Regions from separate parts of the Homo sapiens genome. Here all the other regions are linked to region 1. The links are contacts of gene promoters, found by promoter capture Hi-C in blood cells and fetal thymus (Javierre and others, 2016). All regions are on one chromosome and are shown on one strand. Each heading gives the region's core, a stretch centred on a gene start or on the middle of the fragment in contact. The rest is flanking DNA. Distances are from core to core; before and after follow the strand shown. Region 1 holds the start of TRIB2 (tribbles pseudokinase 2). Region 2 overlaps MIR3681HG (MIR3681 host gene). Region 3 overlaps MIR3681HG (MIR3681 host gene). Region 4 overlaps MIR3681HG (MIR3681 host gene). Region 5 overlaps MIR3681HG (MIR3681 host gene). Region 6 overlaps MIR3681HG (MIR3681 host gene). Region 7 overlaps MIR3681HG (MIR3681 host gene).

Evidence for each region. Contacts are between HindIII fragments. The CHiCAGO score rates a contact against its expected background, and 5 or more counts as called.
Region 2: a contact is called between a fragment that was not itself captured here and the fragment with the promoter of TRIB2 in region 1, in 2 of 17 cell types (erythroblasts and total B cells). The highest score is 5.4, in erythroblasts.
Region 3: a contact is called between a fragment that was not itself captured here and the fragment with the promoter of TRIB2 in region 1, in 1 of 17 cell types (erythroblasts). The highest score is 5.4, in erythroblasts.
Region 4: a fragment that was not itself captured here is called in contact with the fragment with the promoter of TRIB2 in region 1 in 6 of 17 cell types (neutrophils, erythroblasts, fetal thymus and 3 more); the score reaches 8.9 in neutrophils.
Region 5: a contact is called between a fragment that was not itself captured here and the fragment with the promoter of TRIB2 in region 1, in 5 of 17 cell types (erythroblasts, total B cells, naive B cells and 2 more). The highest score is 8.8, in erythroblasts.
Region 6: a contact is called between a fragment that was not itself captured here and the fragment with the promoter of TRIB2 in region 1, in 4 of 17 cell types (fetal thymus, megakaryocytes, endothelial precursors and 1 more). The highest score is 10.5, in fetal thymus.
Region 7: a fragment that was not itself captured here is called in contact with the fragment with the promoter of TRIB2 in region 1 in 3 of 17 cell types (fetal thymus, non-activated CD4 T cells and total B cells); the score reaches 6.3 in fetal thymus.

What each region holds. Positions count from the first base shown.
Region 1 is chr2:12,715,490-12,718,397 of GRCh38, reverse strand. TRIB2 (tribbles pseudokinase 2) reads right to left here and starts at 1,462. Exons shown (of 3, transcript NM_021643.4): 1 at 1-1,462. The coding sequence starts at 90. It overlaps LOC124905974 (a long non-coding RNA gene), which reads left to right and starts at 1,640. Exons shown (of 2, transcript XR_007086222.1): 1 at 1,640-2,908. RefSeq lists enhancers at 995-1,064, 913-1,552 and silencers at 1,505-1,564, 1,655-1,874. The HindIII fragment of the contact is 5,863 bases long and covers 1-2,787 here.
Region 2 is chr2:12,075,233-12,078,128 of GRCh38, reverse strand. The region is part of intron 2 of MIR3681HG (MIR3681 host gene); the gene reads right to left. Among named protein-coding and RNA genes, the nearest start is that of MIR3681HG, 70 kb to the right of the region's middle. The HindIII fragment of the contact is 620 bases long and covers 1,112-1,731 here.
Region 3 is chr2:12,093,163-12,096,054 of GRCh38, reverse strand. All of the region lies in intron 2 of MIR3681HG (MIR3681 host gene), which reads right to left. Among named protein-coding and RNA genes, the nearest start is that of MIR3681HG, 87 kb to the right of the region's middle. The HindIII fragment of the contact is 1,831 bases long and covers 680-2,510 here.
Region 4 is chr2:12,181,258-12,184,297 of GRCh38, reverse strand. The region is part of intron 3 of MIR3681HG (MIR3681 host gene); the gene reads right to left. Among named protein-coding and RNA genes, the nearest start is that of MIR3681, 16 kb to the left of the region's middle. The HindIII fragment of the contact is 5,400 bases long and covers 1-3,040 here.
Region 5 is chr2:12,059,036-12,061,844 of GRCh38, reverse strand. All of the region lies in intron 2 of MIR3681HG (MIR3681 host gene), which reads right to left. Among named protein-coding and RNA genes, the nearest start is that of MIR3681HG, 53 kb to the right of the region's middle. The HindIII fragment of the contact is 730 bases long and covers 917-1,646 here.
Region 6 is chr2:12,163,320-12,166,339 of GRCh38, reverse strand. All of the region lies in intron 2 of MIR3681HG (MIR3681 host gene), which reads right to left. Among named protein-coding and RNA genes, the nearest start is that of MIR3681, 34 kb to the left of the region's middle. RefSeq lists an enhancer at 2,522-3,020. The HindIII fragment of the contact is 1,090 bases long and covers 1,147-2,236 here.
Region 7 is chr2:12,110,843-12,113,841 of GRCh38, reverse strand. All of the region lies in intron 2 of MIR3681HG (MIR3681 host gene), which reads right to left. Among named protein-coding and RNA genes, the nearest start is that of MIR3681, 87 kb to the left of the region's middle. The HindIII fragment of the contact is 229 bases long and covers 1,567-1,795 here.

The sequences.
Region 1 (2,908 bases), core at 213-2,712:
TATAGACGACAACTCTTCGAAATCCTGGGTTTTGTTCCGCGATCTCCCATATCTCGCTATTGTGATGGGGGTAGACCTGTGTATGTTCATGAGTGTGAGGATCGCACACGACAAACAAAAAAAAACCCGCTGGAGAGATGAGTCGCTGGCGAGTGCGGCTGCAGGCGCCTCGGTGCCACTGATTTTAAAAGGGAGCGAGAGGGGAGGGGACAGAAGAGGGGCTGCGTGGAGAAAGAGTTAGAAGCCCCCAAATGGGCGCCGCCGGATACCTCGTCTGCTCCGAGCCCGGCTCCCGGGGGTCCTCGGTCGGCAGGCAACTCGGGTCTTTTTGTTACCCCAAAGCAGTCGGCGATGTGCAGAATCGCCGCACTTTTAGTTACTCTGTGTGTGTGTCCCCGGCGTGGATCTGGATGAGTACCCGGGCTGCTAAGGTGCGGAGCTGCAGCGCCAGGGCTCCCGACGCGACCCCCAGGCCGGCTTCCGAATCGCAGACGGGGCGGAGGAGCCCGCGGTAGTTTGTGCAGTCTTCGGGGAGCTCACGGCGGCGACTCAGTCCCAACGCGTTAGAAGCCAAACAAAAAGAGAAAGGAAACAAGCACGGGTCTACCGGCTGGCGACGCACGGCAGCCAGAATCCGCGCTGCACCCCCTTTTTTTGGTGGAAAGGGTGGGGGGCGTGTAAGGGGGGGGTGCGGGAGAGGGCAGTTACCTACGTTTTAACTGTAGATGGCGTCTGAGGCTTTTCCAAGATCGCGAGCTCTCCAAAAATTAAACAAACAAACAAAAAAAAGAAAAATTGCAAGGGAGCATTTAACTTGGTGCGGTCAGCGCTGCCAACAAAAGATTGCAAAAGCTGGGCACAGAGTTGCGGCGCGGGCTGGGCGCAGGTACCGCGACAAAGCCCTGGGCTCGGCCCGCCGCGCGGAGGTCAGCACAGGCTCATGCTGTCGCCGCTCGCTCGCGCCCCAGGTCTTCCTCCGAATGCAGCCAGACGTGCAGGAGAGAACGAGGACAGATCGGCGGTCTCCGATTTCGCCGGCACGAGCTTGCGGGGGTCCTGCGGGCGCTGCAAGGGGAGCTGCGTCCCTGGCCCTTCCAACGCGCGGCGTTCCTTTGCCCCTTTCCCGCTGGAGAACTGGATCTCGTCCTGGAATAATTTGCAATCACCCCGTCTCCCCCTACCCCGAGACCAAATTGCCCGGTGGGGTTTGTTTTGGAGAAAATTGACGGCTTGTCTCCTCCTTCTTTGATTTCTTGCTTGCCCCCCCCAGAGAAAAGAGGGGACCGTGTATTTAAAAATTAAAGGGGACGGCCGACGGTGCCCGAGGCCAATCCCCGCGCTCAGCACGCCCGCATCCCCCGGCGAGGCGGTATTAATAGTTACTTACGTGGCCGGGGATCTCGGAGCGAGCGGGGCCGTGAGTGCGCGTGTGCGCGCGCGCGCCTCGCTCGCGCTCGGTCTCCCCATTCAATGTCACCGACACATTTCCACGGAGCCTCCGCCCCCCCCCCGCCGCCCCCGCGACTGGCTCAGCCCAGAGCCGGCCCCGCCCCGCCCCCGCCCGGGCCCCCCTCATTGCGCCGGGCGCCCATCAATCAGCCCCGCCGCTGCCAGTCCTCGGGCGGCTCCCCGCGCCGCTGCCATTGCAGCTCCGTGCCGGGGGCGCCAGCACCGGCCTCGCAGCTCCCTCGCCCGGCCGGGGAGGTAAACAAAGTGAAATATCCTTCCGCGGCCCGGGGCCCCGGGCGCAGCACCCTGGGTGTCGGCTGCGAGCCGGCTGCGAGCCCAGCTGCGGGCGGCTGGGCCGGGGTTACCAGCAGCGACTCCCGAGCCGTTCCCCACACGCTGCTCCCGCAGCGCCCGCTCCAGCTCTTCGTAGCTCGTTCATGTTCCTGGCGCTTTTCCCCAGAAAGCCAGGCACGCTCTGAGCATTGGGCCCCCAGGCTCAGATGTGGCCCTGAATGAGGAGCTCTGTTTTGGAAGAATGCGCTTTCATCGGTATTGCTGCCTGGAGTTTCGAGAATTCGTTTCATGGTATCTCTCCGACATCCTCCTCTCCATTTAAAAGGAAATCCATTGCTTCCTTTTAGTTGGTGTCACCGCTTGCCCCCGATCCCCACATCCTGGGCTTGTATTTCTAGTGTTTTCAGCAGAAGAGGAACTGAAGGCATCTTTTGATTCAGGTCAAATTTAATCACTAATTCTTCCCTTCCCAGTGCATTGCCTGGAGGGCCTTGGAGGCCAAGCTAGACAAAACTTTGCACCCACACCTCCAGGGAGCGCTGTTGGGTCCTATCCAGGGTGCTGGGCGTCCTGAGTCCTCTTCTGTTAGCCAGGTGAAGGCTGCAGTTTCACGCCCCACTCCACCCCCCATTTCGCCACCCCCCCCGAATTATTCGTAACTTCCTTGGGAGATTCCAGTCCGCGGGCTTGGACAGGAACACCGGAAGCAAGGGGCTTGAACTCAGGCAGAGGCTTCAAACGCCAGCCTTGATCTAAGATATCCTGGTGAATGAGAAGCGATCTAGTAGAGGACAAACTTAAAAAAAAAAATCCCAAGGAACTGAGAAAGGGGAGTTGGGACGACTCCTGGAGCCCTCTGAGCTTTTGCATGCGTGTAGTATATTTTCCACTGGAGGAGGGGACTAAATTATTGTCCACTGTAGGACACTTTCAGTAAAAGAAGGGAGCTATTTATAATTATGTCCACTTGGGACAACAGTCACTCTAATGATCAGGAGTCCTGGGAATGTGGCCAGAGATGGAGAGGACATTGACTATAAAGCTTCCACCCAGCAGCACAGAGTTAAAAGGAAGGTTAAGAAGTGGACCCGTGCCTTCCAGCACCTCTCACCATCCTACTCCCCACAAACCTGCCTAGGATTCAGTCCCAGATCCCAGCAGAATA
Region 2 (2,896 bases), core at 172-2,671, 640 kb after region 1:
GGCTTGAAAAGGTCATGAAAAAATCAGCTCTCACTTCTTGCACAATTTTCTAGTACAAAATTTTTCTTTGCAGAAACATAGCTTACATGACACCTAGATAGCAGCTTCTAATGTACCTTCTCTCAATTACCCAATGCCACCCCACCCCACAAAAAAAAAAAAAAAAAGCTTGCAAATACAGAAAAAAAGGTGAAAACTCAAAGCACACCAAACAACAAGCCTGACAGGCAGCTAAAAGTTACAATCTGGAATTTTCTCCTAAAAAGAACAGATTTTTAAGAAAAAAAAAAAATAGCCAGGGTTAAGCAAGTAGTAGACTCCCATTTCTCTAAATAACGGTGCCCTTTCATAAATCCCCAATATCATCCACTGGCCCAGGGACCCCAGGCCCATCCTCACCATGTATAGCCATCTGTCATATTAACCTATCATGTGGTAATCTGAGTATTGATCTCTTTCCTCAATCAAGGCTATGACCATCTTCAATCTCCACACCAAATCTAGAAAATAAAAAACAACTGGACATGCAAGTTATATAGAGTAGTGCTGGCGCATGTTATCTCAGAGGTTAGTCCCATCAAAGACAACTCCTGCCCAGTTGTTAGGCAGGAGTCCCTTGCTTTTTGAATATCTGGTTAAAATTGATTCAACCTCCCATTCTATTTCAGTGCATCGTAAGGGTACTCATATTCTCAAGAGCATCCTTTTTCTCCTGGCTCAGCAGGTGATATCTTAGCAGTGCTTCAACTCAGATCCAAAATGCCTCATCTTCCTTGATTCACCAACAAAAATTATTCTTTCAAAGGACCAGTGAATACAGCAGAATTTGCTCGAGATGACCTGGTTGGAGGCACAGAGAACAAAGGAGGGTTTGCATAGCAGAACTATACTGAATCAACCAGGTAACACTAAGCTAACAAATGACCCCCAAATCTTACTGATTTCCAATAATAAAGTTGTACGTTCATTCACCCTACATGCACATCACAGTCGGCCCTGGCTCTGTTCCCATTTTCTTCTTCATGGACCAAAGCCAGCAGAGCATTTGTTACCTGGAAGAGGGCCAGTCATCACAGAAGAGGGAATCACTCACTCACAAACGCTTAAAGCTTTTGCTTGGAAAACCACGCACATCAATTTCACTCATGACTGATTGACCAAAGCAAGTCACATGGCTGAAACTGAGTACTAAGAGTGTGGAGATGTATAATCCTCCCACAGACGGTGGCACCAAATATAGATGAACAGTAATACAATCTACCACATTAGCATTTTAAAATGCAGGAGTAGATATCATCATCTTAAAATACTTTGGCAAGACCCTAGGAGGCTCAGTAGTCCTCACCTCTCTACTGCCTCTTTCCCACCCTCCAGAGCAATACAATTCTTCCCCTTGTCTCATGCAAAACTCCTTAAATTTTATCTGTTGTCAATACACAAACCCTCTACCCCAACCCCTTATCTCAGAATTTTGTTCAAGCAAGGAATGTTGGTGTCAATTGCTAAAATAATGTTTCCTCTGTCTGATTACATGAGAAAATTATAATAATGTTCCCTCTGTCTGATTACATGAGAAAATTCTAAGTAGGAGTGGTAAAAAAAAGAACCCTGAATGCTGAAAATGGCAATTTTGCATCATAATTTGTGCCAATTCCAAATACCAGAAAAGCCACAGTAGGCTTAGGGAGAAGTTGCCATTTTGGAAGGGCAGAGGAGTGCCAAGAGAAAGCTTTCTAGAAGCTGGGCATTGGGTTTAGACCCACTCATGCCCATCTACCTTCAGCTCTAGCTCTAGCTCAAAAAGGATTCCAATAAAACCCATGAATAGAGAGCAGGGCCCAGGGCACTCTGTTGGCAAAGACCTATTCAAGATGTATCTCATCTTTGTTTTGTTTGTGAGGTTGGTAAAAGAAGAAAGCATCTTTTAGTGGGTTTATTGGCTCTTTGCATAACTTTCTTCTAAAGTGCATGTTCAAGCAATTTGTCCAATAAGAAAAAAGTCAAATAACTCTAATTTTTAAAAGGGGCAAGTGATTTGATCAGGGACTTTGCAAAAGTGCATGCCCAAGTGTCTAATGGACAAATGAAAAGATACCAACACTTATCTTTAAAAAATTAACTAAAATAAACAACAAAATTACTATAATATAAAGTTTTCGTGAGGATGTACTGCAACTGAAAATCTTAAATATTGAGAATATAAATTATTACAAACACAGTTAAAGGAACTAGTTGGTTGTATCTACTAAACCTAAATATAGACCTACTGTACGAACCACCCTGCCCAATCATAGTTTCATACCCAAGAGAAATGAGTACGTTTTCCCACAAAAAGAAATAAACAAGATTATTTACAGCAGGCTTATTCATAATTGCCAAAAGCTGAAAACAACCCCACTGACCATCAACAGAAGAATGAATACATAAATTGTGGTATAGTCAAATAATGGACTACTTATATACAAATTAAAAAAAAAAAACATTGATACACACATAATTTGGATGAATCTTTAAAACATAGTATGTGCAAAATAAACCAAAATAAAAAGTGCATACCACATCTATATGCAGTTCAAGAGTAAGAAAATCTAATTGACAGTGATTGAAGTCAAAATGTGATTATTCTGAGGTGGAGTATTGATGACGAAGGCGCAGAAAAGAACCTTCATGGGTCCTGAAAATATTCTCTGTCTTAATCTGTATGGTGATTACACAGATGTATATAAAATTTTATCAAGCTCTACATAAGGTGATCGTTCTTCATGTGCTTAGTCTGTGTGAAACACATTTATGCTTCTTATTTCACCAAAAAAATGGAAACTTTGCCCACTCCCATGAGAAAACTAATTTTCCCATTTCAAAAATAATCTTGAAACTGGGAGGTTTAAAAAACAAT
Region 3 (2,892 bases), core at 346-2,845, 620 kb after region 1:
AACCTTCACCTCCTGGGTTCAAGCAATTTTCCTGCCTCAGCCTCCCAAGTAGCTGGGACTATGCACCACCATGCCCAGCTAATTTTTATATTTTTAGTAGAGATGGGGTTTCACCATGTTGGCGAGGATGGTCTTGATCTCCTGACCTCGTGATCCACCTGCCTCAGCCTCCCAAAGTGCTGGGATTACAGGCATGAGCCACTGCGCCCAGTCAAAATATTTTGTATTTTAAAGTAAGACTGCAATAGGATTCAACCATTACGGTAATAATGGTAAAAATAATACCATATTGTAATCATCCTGTACATTTGTTCCAATAAAGCTTTATATTTATGCATTATTTTAAAATAGGTCATCTTGTGTAATTTCCCCCATTTTCTGAGAAGAAACAGAGCTCTGAGAGATTACGGAACTTTCCCTGGGTAATAGGCCTGTGGCCTCCCAGGGTCTGTAAGAAACCAGTGTCTATACTGGCCTAATACCCCTTGGAAGCTGTCTATGCTGTTTGTGATTATTACCAGACTGATTCTGTGGTAAGATCGACATGTTTTTCTGAAAGCTGATGATAATTAAAGAGTAAATTTGTCAAAAATAAATTGACCAAAATGACAAGTGTTCTCAGTCAAAACTTTCTTCACATAATGTTAATTTTTGAACACAATGATCCAGTATTCAAGCTTTGTATGAATCTTTTTAAGCATTGGCATCTGTGCCTCAGAATTTATTTTTACTTTTAAAACAATTGTGCGTATCTTTTATGTTGCTATAGGATTTGTTTTTCATACTTTTTCTTTTCTAATTCTAATTTACCTTCAACTTCAATTATGCTAGCTTCCACTTTTCTAAAAATGTTGTGACATATCTAATTTTCATGTAAAAGAAAAAAATTTCAAAAATAAAAGCTGAGAATCACAACTTCCAATCATGATGATTTCTTGGCAACTCTACATTGATTTTTTTAATCTATGTTAGTTTGTCCATTTTCTAAGTTCTTTTACTAAAATGTGTTTTAATTTTACATTCATTTCAGATAGCTATTCCTATTTTACTTCTTTTGATTTTGTTTTCACCATGTTAGACTCTGAATTTATTTTATTTTAAATTACTCTTATGTAATGTAAGCATAATTTTTGCCACCTCATGGCATTATATTGCCATCATTTGATAGAAATTCTGAAGTCTGAATTAAAGCCCTCGTAAAAGTTATGTTCCATGCAGATTTAAGACAAACCATAGGCTTAGAAAAATAAACCAAAATGAATGTTCCCAATGAAAGCATGTAAAGATTCACAAATAATTGAAAAGAACATGAGAAACATAATGAGAGCTCGAAGATAGGCAAAAGTATACACAATTACTCAATGGTGTGCCAAGTTACCAATGCATAAAAATATTTGGTTTTGTTCAATTTGTTCTTTAAAGTCATAGTGTAGGGTTTATTGGTTAAACATATGAATTCATAACCTAATGAATGCGTATTCATGATGCTGTGATTTTAGTGACAGATTATTAGGTAACTCCTTAATTATGCTGATAGGCTTCATTTATTTGTTCATTTTTGACAAGGAGGAGTTTTCACCCTAAAAGACATGTCAATTACCCTGGTCAAGAAATGAGACTGGCCTTAGGATCAAAAGATGGAAGAACTTCCTCATTCACTGCCAAGACAAAAAGATGTTGGGAAAGGGCTCTGTGCAAAAGGGCTGGAAGCCCTCCTGACTCAGCCACACTTGCACTGTGTGTGGCCACCAGTGCCATGTGATCATTTGTGAGCATGTAAACCGGAAGAGCTGTGGAGCTATAGAGGTGAGATGGAGATGTCAGATGGGAGCAACCATTACTAAAGCAAGTTCCCGGGACGCAGAGATACTGTCTTCTCCCCCTGCACCTTCTGCTAAACCATTGAGGGTGGCAGTTGCCCCTGCCATTGAAACACTCAGTATTTGGGCCACCAGATTTGTGTGGAGGTGTGTCCAGGCAATCAAAGATAACAGACAAGGCAGGCACTGGCTTCAGAGAAGCAACAACAGTTAAAGAGAATGGGCTTCTTCGAGGACCTTTTCCCGATATTCTCTCTCGTCACTCAGCCAGCCAAGACTAATTCCCTGAATGGAGTAAGAATGTCTGGGGTGCATGAAATGGAACTGTCCAAAGAGAGTTAGATCGGGGTACTCTGGGACAAGAGAAAGATACTCATGGTTGGCAAGGTGGGGGCTTGGAGATTTGATTTTTATATTAAAATAAATGTGCCTTCCTTTTGCACCCCAGATTAGTGGAGCAAGTTTTTTTTTACATTTATTCAACAAAGCATGATGTGCTGATTTTTATTATGTTGTATGCTAAAGACATAAGAATTAAAAGTTGATGTCCATAAGGGACTTGTCATTTAACAGGAGAAAATCTTTCTTAAACCTAACTCTAACTACTTCCCTAATTTACTTACCCCTAATATAGGTATAGTAAAATTAATTGTAACTCAATGAGTACAAGAAAATAATCTCAAAAAAGCTTTTCAACCCTTTGGTAGTTCTGATAATGAATATTGCAGTAAATTCATTTTGGCAAATAGTTATTCATATAAAGAACTGTGAATGCCACTAGGGACAGGGTGATTTATAGAGATATGGATAAAATTTATTTTACACCTTAAATAACAATAATGGTCATTATACAGACTAAAATGTTGAATACACAGTAGTGTTTTCATTGCTTACACCAACTTTATGAAGTAGATACTATTATTATCTCCACTCTCCAGATGTTGATTTCAGTCTAATGATTGACATGTATCCAGTTAATGGTAATACAAGGCAGGAAAAAAAATAAGGACGAAAGATATATATAAATAATGTAGTTAAGGAAAGGAGAAACAATTCCAGGGGGGGAGGATAA
Region 4 (3,040 bases), core at 384-2,883, 530 kb after region 1:
TCAAGGATAACCCTTGAGTTCAAGAGTCTCATTTTCTTCACTTTACAGATCGGATAATTGAAGCTCAGCATGTAATTAACATGCCCGCCTTAAGTATGAGCACTGTTTTAAGTGATTTACATATTTGTATTAACTTATTTAATCCTCGCATCAACCATGAAGTAGAGAGCATTAGAATCCCCATTTCACAGATGAGTAAATAGAGACATAAATAATGTGACTTTTCCATGTTCACCTGGACAGGGAGTGTCAAGCAGTCACTTCTAAACCCCTGCTGTTTCTCTTATTCCACCCAGACAGGATCTTCCTAGGGAGTTCCTTCAAAAAGTATCTTTTTTTTTTTTTAGGAGTGTCACTCTGTTGCACAAGCTGGAGTGCAGTGACACAATCACAGCTCACTGTAACCTCAAATTCCTGGGCTCAAGTGATCCTCCCACCTCAGCCTCCAAAGTAGCTCAGACCACAGCTGTGCCCCCATGCCCAGCTAATTTTTAAATTTTTTGTAGAGATGAGGTCTTGCTATGTTGTCCAGACTGGTCTTGAATTCCTGGCATCAAGCAATCCTCCCCTCTCAGCCTCCCAAAGTATCTTGATAGGTGTTATACTGAAAATTCTATTAAAAAGTTTTGAATATGTTTATTTTTCATATTATCAATTTTTCCTTGTGTTTATTTTTCACAAAAACTTCAACATTTACACAAAATCCTCATTTTGATGTGTAATCTGACAATTCAGAGTGTTCACATTTGCATATTTATATTCTTTTTGCCATTTCCATTCCATGAGATCTGCTGGTCTGTGAGGTACCTCATTAAGTGCAGCTGTAACTTCCCCATGGTGAGCAAAGACTAGGAAATGGATAAATATCTATGACGGTTCCTCCTTGCAAAAGTGCAGGATTGGTTCAGCAGCTCTTCTGCTGGTGGGAATGGATAGCAATAAAGCAGATCAAAAAGAATGAACTCTCTTCCCTTCCTATTCTAAGAAGATGGTTCCCTTCATCTTTCACCACAAGGGTAATAAGCTCAGCCTCATTACAGAACCTGAGCAGCACCAATCTAAAACATACTGCATTTACTATGAGGGATTGGTGAGGCTAGCCCCTCTGAACAGTGGCTTCAGTCATTCTGTGGCCAAGGTCCTAGGAAATGACTAGAGAGATAAGATGCGGGACGAAGGATGAAGTCATTTTGGTCTGGCAACTAGATGGGGTCCCCAGACCCATGCTTCTCAAACCACATGTAGAGAGAGCAAGTTTGTTTGTCCTTAATCCTTAGAAGACCAAAATTTGAAAAATATATTGCAAATGAATTACCAAAAGAAAGATAAATAAATGAAATGAAATACGACAGTCAGATTTGTATTATTATATTAGATTTATATTAATATATTAGATTAATATTAGTATTAGATTATAAAATTGCTCTGTCAGTTTGCTATTAAAAGTTTCAAACAGCTTATTCTTAATTTCTGTATTAATTTCTGTAACAAGCAGACCCATCAACCACGCTCTGAGTAGCAATGCCCTGGACCAGGCTGGGCAGCCTGAGACCTTCTCTGGGTGGCAGTGGAAGGAGTGGCTATGAAAGGCAAGTTCAACCTAAAGAGAAATAGAGAACCCAGGATGAAGGAAACACAAACGGTATAACTCTGCCTAGTGATCGGGGCAAGAGGGAAGCAAATCCACACAGTGCAAAGTAATATGCAACTAAGCAGACAGTAAAGAGAAGAAAGAGAAGGGATGAGCTGATAGGAGCATCACAGCATCCCCCAAACTTCTGATCAGTACTGTAGCATCCACACAGCTAACTGGTTATACATGAGCTATGTGCTTGGCATCACTTGGATCACAGTTATACAGCATATGAGCTCCTTAGACTGAGTTCCATGGGAGAAGCAATGGCGTTTTCTTTCCTCCTTAAGAAGGAAGGTCAGGGTACTGGTTACATGTCCTTGCATATGTCACCCAAGTTAACCTGCCCTGATTTAAGTAGGAATCTGGAAGAGTGAGACACTCATTTTGCAGAGAACAATCAGAATTGCATTTGAGTTGATGATCCCATCCAGTGTGATTATAGGGTCTCTATAGGCACAGTGATTCCTAATGGATTTGTCTTAGAGATTTCTTTTCCACCATTGTTGCTGATGCCCTCAATGTGTAAATTGATGATCTGCTGCTAATGTCTTAGCCCCGCTACTGTTCCTCTTCATGCCACCTCTAGCTAGTACTATTGGTTTTACAGGAACTGTCGAAGTGGCAGGAAAATGTTTCCCCCCAGAAATAATAGCTTTGGGGGTTCTTTAGAATCTTGCCCTTTTCATTTTATAGTCTCTGAAGGGAAATAAAGAACATATTTTCCCAGGGACTTTACCAGTAGACATTTAAGAGCTGCCAACCATGCACAATCTTTATTAGCCAGAATCACTGTGCCCAGGCAGAAGACAGAACCCACATGCTTCAGCTGTGTCCCATCACTGGATGTTCAGGCTGCCTCCTCTGCATCCTGTAAAGTGTGGGCAGCCTTGCCTCCTGCTTTTCATTGGGAGTTGTATTCCAGGAGCCTGACTTTCAGCCCCAGCTTCATGCCTCATACATTTCAACAAACGTAAAATTTATCATTAAAAAATAACTCTGCACATCCAAATAGGCAAGAACTCCAAAGCAAGCAGATTGAGTTTCACAGCTCATAAACAACTCCCGAATACAGTTGGCTAAGAGAATTGATATCCACGTGACAAGGATTCTTCTCAAAGGCACTGTCCTCAATCCAATCACCATACCAGATATGTGTATTGTGTATTGTCTATTGTCCATTCATGCAAAAACCTTCTGTCTGAAGAATCCCGCTTAATAACAGCTAAGTGTTGATTACTTGGACGATGATCAGGAAGTCACGTCTTGAGCTTTAGGAACTACCAGGTAGAAAAGAGTGAATTCAAAAAAGTTCTAGAGCAGTGGTTCTCAACTGAGAGTGATATCCTCCTTCCTCCAACCCCCTCCTCCTCTCCAGTGACATTTGGCAATGGCTGGAAACATTTC
Region 5 (2,809 bases), core at 32-2,531, 660 kb after region 1:
AAAGCTCGCCTTAGCCAAAATGTCTAAATCCCACAACTGAAAATGCATTCAACAAATAGCCATTATTTCCTATTTATATAAACATTTCTTGTTCCATGCTCTAAAAACTTTGAAAACCTTCAGAAGTTAGGCTGTGTCAATGTATTGCAAGAGGACTGTCAAGGGGAATAAAGATGTAGTGCTTTCCAAATAACACAATTTCATGAAATCCCTTTTTTAAAAGCAACTTGTATCAATACTTCAGTTCAAATGGAAACATCTCAAGGATAAATTCCTTGTAACTTGGTAGTTACAGAAATTCTTTGTAACTTGGTAGTTACAGAGAAAAAGAATGGCACTGTGTTTCCAGACTCTAAATGTTTAGACAAAGCCTAAGAATTGTGCAATTCACATTGCACTTTAACTGGGCATCATGAATCCACTACTCTAATCCAAGTTCGGCCACCTGGAGCAGGTCACAACTATTCTCTGGGCTGAGCTTCCCTCACTGGAACAGGATGAGAGTAACCAAGGGGTCTCTCTACCAGGATTCTGTGAATTCTTTGCAACATATCTAAAGAACCCAAATATATTCTATGACCCTGGAGATGTATTTAATCCCAGAAATAAACAACGCCTCTTCCCTTCCAAAATATACACTTTCTTTTGAAAAATAAATCTCTCCCAAGAACGTATGGAAGGCATTCTTTTTTATAGACCCGTCTAACATTATAGCACTAAGTGTTTCCACCTGTACCCAGCATGGACGCAGCCACTTAATCAAGATGTGATTATCTAGCTCAGAGTTTAGCCAGAGTATGTGTTTTAAAGAAATGGAGAGCTGAGCTATGTGCTTAATGGCAAAGAATTCCTGGTCTCCAGAGGACTCTCTCTCCAACATCTTTATTGGCAGTGAACGTTCAGAAGGTCATAAGCTTTCAAGGACAAATATATTATAGCCATAATTAGAAAGGATTGGCAGCACAAACATCACCCCTCATGCTCTCCTGCTCAGCAAGTCCTCGTGGGTCCTACCTCTAAAATATGTCAAGCCTGTGCCCTGAAAATCCCTCAGTTGATGCTCTTATTCAGAATCCCTTTCCTCTCTTTTTAGTTAATGATCTTGCCTCCAGGGCCCCCCTTTCTAAATCATCCTCCATGGAGCCAGAGTAATATTTATAAAACAGAAATTTGACTATATCACTTCTCTGTTTAAAAACCTCCTAAGGCCACTCCACAAGATTGAAGTTGAAACTCTCTCACTTTTAAAGAACTTTTGGAGAACTATATGATGTGGTCTCACCTGCTTTATGTTCTAGTCTATGGTTGGCAGATTTAGCAAATAAAAATACAGAACACCAGGTTTAAATCTACATTTGCATAAACTGAAAATAATGTCTTTAATGTAAGCATTTTTCATGCAATACTTGGGACATGCCAAACATATTCATCATCTATCTGAGATCCGAATCCCACTGGGCCTCCTGTATGTTATCTGGCAACAGCACTCCAGTTATACTGCTCTAATCATTCTTTCCCAAGCCATGCACTTGCCTGCCCTTGTGCAATTATTCATGACACTTTCACTACCTAAAGTGCTACTTTCTCCTTCCCAACCTGAAAATTCCTATTCATCCTTTATATCCCGGTACATCTTCTGTAAAGCTTCCCTGACAGCCAATATTCTAATTAACCACTCCCTTCTCTGTCCTTCTTTATGTATCTGCCCTTCTATACTCTCCACAGTGCTTTATAATTACTTATGAGTCACTCTCTTCCACTAGACTGAAAGATCCTTAAAGTGCAGGGACAGACTTTAGTCCATCTTTCACCTCCAACCCCCAGCTCAAGACCAGCATAGGATAGAGGCTCAATGAACTGTATTAAATGAATGAAGAGTAAACCACTAAATAATAAATAATGGGTATGACTTCAAACACATTCTCCCACTCCTCATGAAAGTGGAATTCTGTGAAGAAAATCATACAATATTTTTAATGATTTAAATCCTCTTCACCAAGAGACAGGGCAGGGGCCTCTGGGACAAGTTCCCAAACCACAAAAGTAAACATCCCCTCCCTAGAAGTGTTTCCACCCTTCATACTCAGCCCAGCAATGACTGCAATGCATTCAAGGTCCCTATTAGTGGGTAGGCTCTCCATATCCCCTGGTTCTCTGCAGTTTTTAATCTTGTCCATCTGTTTCCCAAATGTGAGTGTGGATTGCAATTGTCCTGAGTAACCAGTAATTTGTCTAGAATGCTCAGAACTGTCCTTGTCACCTGCCCCACTCACTCTCCCACAGCACTCTGCTAGCCCCTCCAAGGTGGACTTACTCCTCTTGCTTTCTGCTCTGGGCTGTTCGAGGTGGCAGGTCTACCTCTCATACCCCATGGTCAGCACCCAGCGAAGACACACTGAATACACCTGGCACATGCACAGTCTCCCCCTTGAACCCAGTGCCTCCTTATTCATGCCAGTGCCCCTCCCTGCCTGACCTCCTGGTCTCCATCCAGTCTCTCCTCCGTAAGCATTGATATTCATCCCCAGAATGGAGCTCCTTAAAGTAGTATACAATCTTAAGCATCTGCAGAACTTCTGTGGTTCATTCATACTATATTTTTGTTATATGAATGAATGAATGAATCATGCTTGTTCAAGAGCCATTCATTGAGAATCTAGTGGGAACCTGGCTACAGGCACATGATAATGATTACAACATAATTTCTAACAGCAAGGAGTTTGAAATTTAAGATAGCAACACCAATAGTTTCAATCTTTCCTGGACATATATTCAACTTCAAAGATAATTTGTTATCACACAGAAGACA
Region 6 (3,020 bases), core at 442-2,941, 550 kb after region 1:
AAAAGAGAGACTGGCCTAGCCTCCTAGCCTACATCTTTCTCCCCTGCTGGATGCTTCCTGCCCTCAAACATTGGACTCCAAGTTCTTCAGTTTTGGAGCTTCGACTGGCTCTCCTTGCTCCTCAGCCTGCAGACGGCCTATCGTGGGACCTTGTGATCGTGTGAGTTAATACCTAATAAACTCCCCTTTACATATCTATCCCATTAGTTCTTCCCTCTAGAGAACCCTAATACAGGTAGTGTCATCACAGCACACTACAGCCTTGACCTCCCACGCTCAAGCAATCTTCCTGCCTCAGCCTCAGCCTCCCAAGTAGCTGGGACTATAGGCACATGCCACCAAGTGTAACTAATATTCTTTTCTTTTCTTTTTTTTTTTTTGGAAAGATAGAGTCTATATTATGCTTCCCAGGCTGGTGTTGAACCCCTGAACTCAAGCGATCTTCCCACTTCTGCCTCCCAAAGTGCTGGGGTTACAGGTGTGAGCCACCCTGCCTGGTTGACCTTGATTTCTTGATCTAAGTCTAATTACATTCCCAAATCAACATTCTGCCATATAAATGGAATACTAGATCATTTCCCCTATTATTGGAAGCAACACTCAGCTTTACATATTATCTCAAGGGAAAAAAGTCAGGAAATTAAAGCTGATTGCTTTCATGTGCACCATATCCAGTAATTCCCAAGTCACCCCAAAGGAAGAGAGTATCCTTTTTGTACAGACAACTAAATAAAATCTTACAGAAGTCATATAACTTGTCCAAAATCACAATGGAGGAACACACGTGTGTCAGGATACCTGATTGAAATAATATTCATGACAGCTACTGCGGTGAACAAGCTGAGAGGAAAATGTGCAAGGGACTAGAACACTACTGTGTTTTGTGCCAGTGCTCACCTGTAGGTGACTTTGCTTCCTTCATTTAAAAAAAAAATTATTAACAGATTAGGTAGTAGGACTAGCCACCACTAAGCTATTAGAGAAGCATGACTAATGTGCAATGATGGAAAAGATGGTGTGTAGCAAAAGTTTCAGAGTACCATGATAATTCAAGGAAAGGAGAATTCCCGAAGATGTGCAATCGTTAGGGAAGGCTTTGTAGAGACCATGAGATTCAAGGTCACCAAATTGGAATAATGAAAAGCTTCTTCTTCTACCACTTACTGCCCGTGACATGAATAAATAACTTAACCTCACTTATCCCCAGCAAAATGGGGATGATTAGAGTCTGCCTTATATAGCAGCCTGCCTTACAGTAGAATAAATGAGATGATCTTAGAGAGCACTCAGCTTTGTACCAAGCACACCATCAGGACTCAATCCATGCTATCTATAAGAATAATCACAGCAAGCACCACATCAATAGCATCCAGGTTCAGAGCCGAAGCTCTTTCTCCCACCTCTATTTCAAAAAAAATACCCAGGGATCTTATGAGTCCTTTCTTAACCACTTCAGAGAGGAGTGAACAGCCTCCTCCTCCGCATTGCTGTTACCCGTGTTGGTGTTAGGTTCTCTTCTGATACCTGCATATGGGCCTCTGCCCCATCCGAGGTCTTCCTGCTTGTCTCATACATCTCTCCATCCTCAGTGCCAGTGCAGGGTCTGGCACATGTTAAATACTCAGTGGATGGTTGGCAAATACGCTAGGGATTTAGAGATAGGAAATGGACCTTAATTTTACAGAATTCACAGTGTAAATTTCAGATTATCCAAATAGCGATTTAGTCTATAAATATTCAGGGAGCACCTACCAAAGTACTAGCCCAGGTGCTCATATTCTGGAGCTAAAATTCTGTTTGCTTTCTCAGAAAAAGAGTCTTAGCCAGTGGAAGGACCAGACAAATAAACCAATAATTGCATCACATTACAGAGCTTTGAGCCCTCCAGATACCCCAGTCTCCTGACAAACAGAGGAATCCAAATGATGGCCAAACCCTTAGGCCATCATTACATGAACCATTTCATCTATTTTCTAAAGCTGCCATCATTCTGCACAAGGAGAACAGAATTGTTATTGAATATGACTGTGGCTAAGTCTCAGCTGGGGCAAAGGAAGACCTAGAAAAGCAAGAGTGACCCAGCCTCCACGGGAGTAACAGCAATGTCACAGGCCCATGTTAGCATGTGTGAGCGCAGGCATGTCAGGAGCTAAGCTGAGATCCAGGAGCAAGAGAAGGCCAAAGCCCCAGGGAGGTATCAGTGGGGGGCGAGCTCTTGAGAATGAGCGTGCAAGCTTTAGTGTAGCAAGAAGCTAGGGCCCAGTAGAGAAAGGGGAGTAGAAATAACCTCAACAGCTTTCTGCCTCTGCGCCTCTGGCTTGGCCAGCTCGGTGCCCAGGACCACCTGCCACACAGCAGGTTGCCGTGAGCCAGAGCATCCTAAATGAGGCGAAGTCTAAAGAACATGTTTTTGCAATTCTGAGATCGGTCGGGGACAGGGTGTTTCCGGTATTGAGCGGTTCAGACAGTGGAAGGCTGGCCGGGGGATAAAAGGAGAGATGTGTCACAAGAGAGGAGAGCACAGCACGATGGGGGGCAGCAAGGATGGACCCAGCTACTGCATGGCTGGAGGTGGCCGAGGGCAGGCAGGAGATGCAGTGGAGGAGGGACTGAAACTGAGAGGAAGGGGAATGAAGGAGGGGAAAGAGAATCTCCTACAGGAAAATGGGAACCAGATGATCCAAGCCCCTGGGGTACAAGCAAACATGGTCTATGACATGCAGGTAGGCAGCCCCCCACTGCAGTGTGGGGCCGTGAAGGGCACAGTGGAGACCAGACCAGGATAGCCCCAAGCCTGGGGGTGGGTCGCGTGCTCGCTGCCAATATTGGAATTCGTCCTGTGGGCTGTGAGCGTCCTAGCATTGATCACAACATTACAGAGAGTTTCCTTTCATCGCGTGAACCGTTGCCTTTCTTCCCTTTCCCCAAGAATGTAAGTGCTATGAGAGTTTTGACCAAACCTGACACATAGCACGTTTTTAATAAAATTTGCTAAATGAATATGTGCTACATGCTTAGCA
Region 7 (2,999 bases), core at 432-2,931, 600 kb after region 1:
AGATGCCCAGAGGAGGTGACCTTCCTTCATTACCTCTTTGTCATGCCTTTCCTGTGTTCCCCAGAGAACAGGCTTCTCCCTTCTCTGTGCCAACATATTATCTTTCAGCTACTCCCCTCCATGCGGCCACCTTTCCTGCCACATGCTAATGATCTGCCATAAGTCAGTCTCCTACAGCAGAGGAGTGAGCTCCTTAAGTGCAGGGCACTCTCTGTGTCTGGTTTATCTTTGTGTCCTTAGCCCAGCTCAGGGCCTGGCATACTAAATAGCAAACTAGATTCTCCCTGTGCATGCACTTAGAATTAATTTATGCCCTGCCAAAAGCAGCCAACCATGGCTGTGTGTCTGCCCTTCAGAAGTGAGAATGTTTGCCAGGTGCTCCCAAGGGCAGGTTCTTATTTCTTTGTAATATTTCCACAAATGAAGAAATTTTCATTCCCAATAAGTATATCCCCATTGACTGCCAGGGCTTGCAGTTTTGCCTTCTCCTTTTGAAAACTGCACACCCACTACTTCATTCAGAGGGCCTGGAAGACATCAGCTTGACCATTTGCACACATTAAGCAAAGCCATGCAAATCACATCATGTCACTTTGCTTCTTTGACTCTCCCACTTGAAATAACATCCAAACTCCTGACTGGGGCCCACAAGGCCCAGCACGATCTGTCCCTGCGTCCTTCCCAGCTTCATCTCCTGCTACCTTGGCCTTCTGCTCACGAAGCCCCAGGCACATTTAGCCTCTGCTGGTTCCTAGAACATGCCAAGCTTCCTCCTGCCTCAAAGGCTTGTTGCTTGCTGGTCCCTCAGCTGGGAATCTCTCTCCCTGGCATTTCCAGTGGCCAACTCTTCTCATCGGTCAAATGGGAGATTAAATATCACCTTTCCTGAAAGGGCTTCCCCCATGCCACCCCATTCTTACTGAAGTAGAATCTGCCTCATTGTTCTCTAGAGCGATGTCTAGAACATTGCCAATTCTTTTGCAGCGCCAATTTCAATAGGAATTGTTCTGTATAGTCATTCATTCATTACTTGCTGTCCTTTGATGATGTCAACCATGTCTGCCTGACATTCTGTCACCTCCAACACCATACATCATAACAGAATAATGCAAGAAAGCAATTTCTGAGTGCTTGTCAAGGGCCCAGAACTCTCCTGTGCTCTTTACAGGCATTGCCTCTTGGGGGATATTTACCATCCCCACTTTACAAATGCGAAAACAGGGCATCAGTGACTTGCTTAAAGTCACACAGTAAGTGTCATACTTAGGATTTGAATCCCTATTGTCTGACTTCAGCATCAATGATAATATGATTACAACCCAAAGCCATACAGTATGCAATAAATACATTTCAAATAAATCAATATTTAAAGCAATAATGGCAGACCTTATAATTGCCATGATTGTATGTTGCTAGAAGACTGGAATCATGTCACGTATCCCTTTGGTGTTTTCCAGCACCCATCACAATGCTGCAATGGAACAACTGAATTGAAGTTTGCAGAAAGTGGGACTGTAGTAACAACTCGACCCATGGCAGTTGTCCTGAGTATAATGATGTTAAGCTTTTAACATGGATCAAATCCCATAGTGTGCAGCATATGGAGTATTTCAAGATTATTAGGCCAACTCCTTTCTTTACAGACTCGTTTGCTCTCAAGACCATATCCTTGCTTAGCCTGGCACACCCGGGTCTCCACGACCTGCCCTTGCCCCATCTCCAACTTTTTCCCCACTTCAGCTCCCCTAGCAGTCCTGGTGTCAATGGCCTGTTGACTTTGTTTTGTCATGAAGCTTGGGCTTTAACTTTCCCAGTGGAGAAGCTACTGAGGAGTTTTATTTCGGGATGTGGCATGGTTTGATCAGGTGAATTTAGGTGGAATACTGCAGACTAGATTGGAACTCATAGCCTGGGCCACCATCACGGGTGCACAGCACTTACAGGTATATAATAAATCACTGTGAAAGGAAGAAAACAGAGAAGGAATTGCCCTTGGAAGAAGTCAGCTGAGTGATGATGAGTAATCAGCTGAAGAACATGGTCTTTGATTTCTGGTTACAAATATAAGAGCATCCTAAATGAGGCAGATTAAAAATTAATAATTTGGAGGATGTTCTTCAGGTTGTACAATTTCTCTGTTAACCTACTTAGCACGTCACCAGGCAAAACCAGAGAAAAATAAGACGGAGCTCCCAACATCAAGGAATTCACAGGACAGAGCTGACCTAAGAAAACCCGTGGCCCAGTCAGGAGGAAAAGGAGAAGGCAAGGGAAACACAGCCCTACCCTGGTGCCGAAGAGCCCTGAGTTCCAGTCGTGCCTGGGACTCCTTCATAACCTGCCTGGGGTTTACCAGTGGAAAGCCACAAAGCCAGCTGAACCTGAACCTCAGACTCCAAACCTGTGCTCTTTACAACAGGAATAAATCAGCCTCCCTGATCCTCCCCCATCACCCACCTCATAGGACTGTGTGAGAGCCAGAAAAATCTCTAAAGAGCTATGCATCACATAAGTATTTCTGTACAAACCTCAAGGCTTAGAAATGAACTACCTGTAGCTCCCAGAGCAGAACCCTTTGGCAACGTCACATTTTCCTTCTCATGTGTTCTCAATATTTAAATCAACCCCTTGAGAGGCTCATGTAGCAAATGGGCTGTATTTAGTGGGCCCAGAGACTCTAGTGTCATCCTCTACCCTCCTTTTCCCTTTTCCTCTCTGTTGCTCTCCCTGTTTGTGCAAACCACCTAAAATGATTTCTATGCTTTACCAGAAATAGAATGTTAAACACTATTTTATTCATTACCAATAATAGCCTGTTTTTTGGTTTTGCTTTGTGTTTTTTGTGGTTTGTTTGTTTTTGCTTTTTTTTTTTTTTTTTTTTACTATGAAACCAGCATGCACTTAAAAACAGTGTGGTGGGCCTTCGTTTTCTCTCATATCAAATAATTCCTAAGGCTTCCTCTGGCTCTGACACTGTGTGCTTTTTCCTATTCTAAACA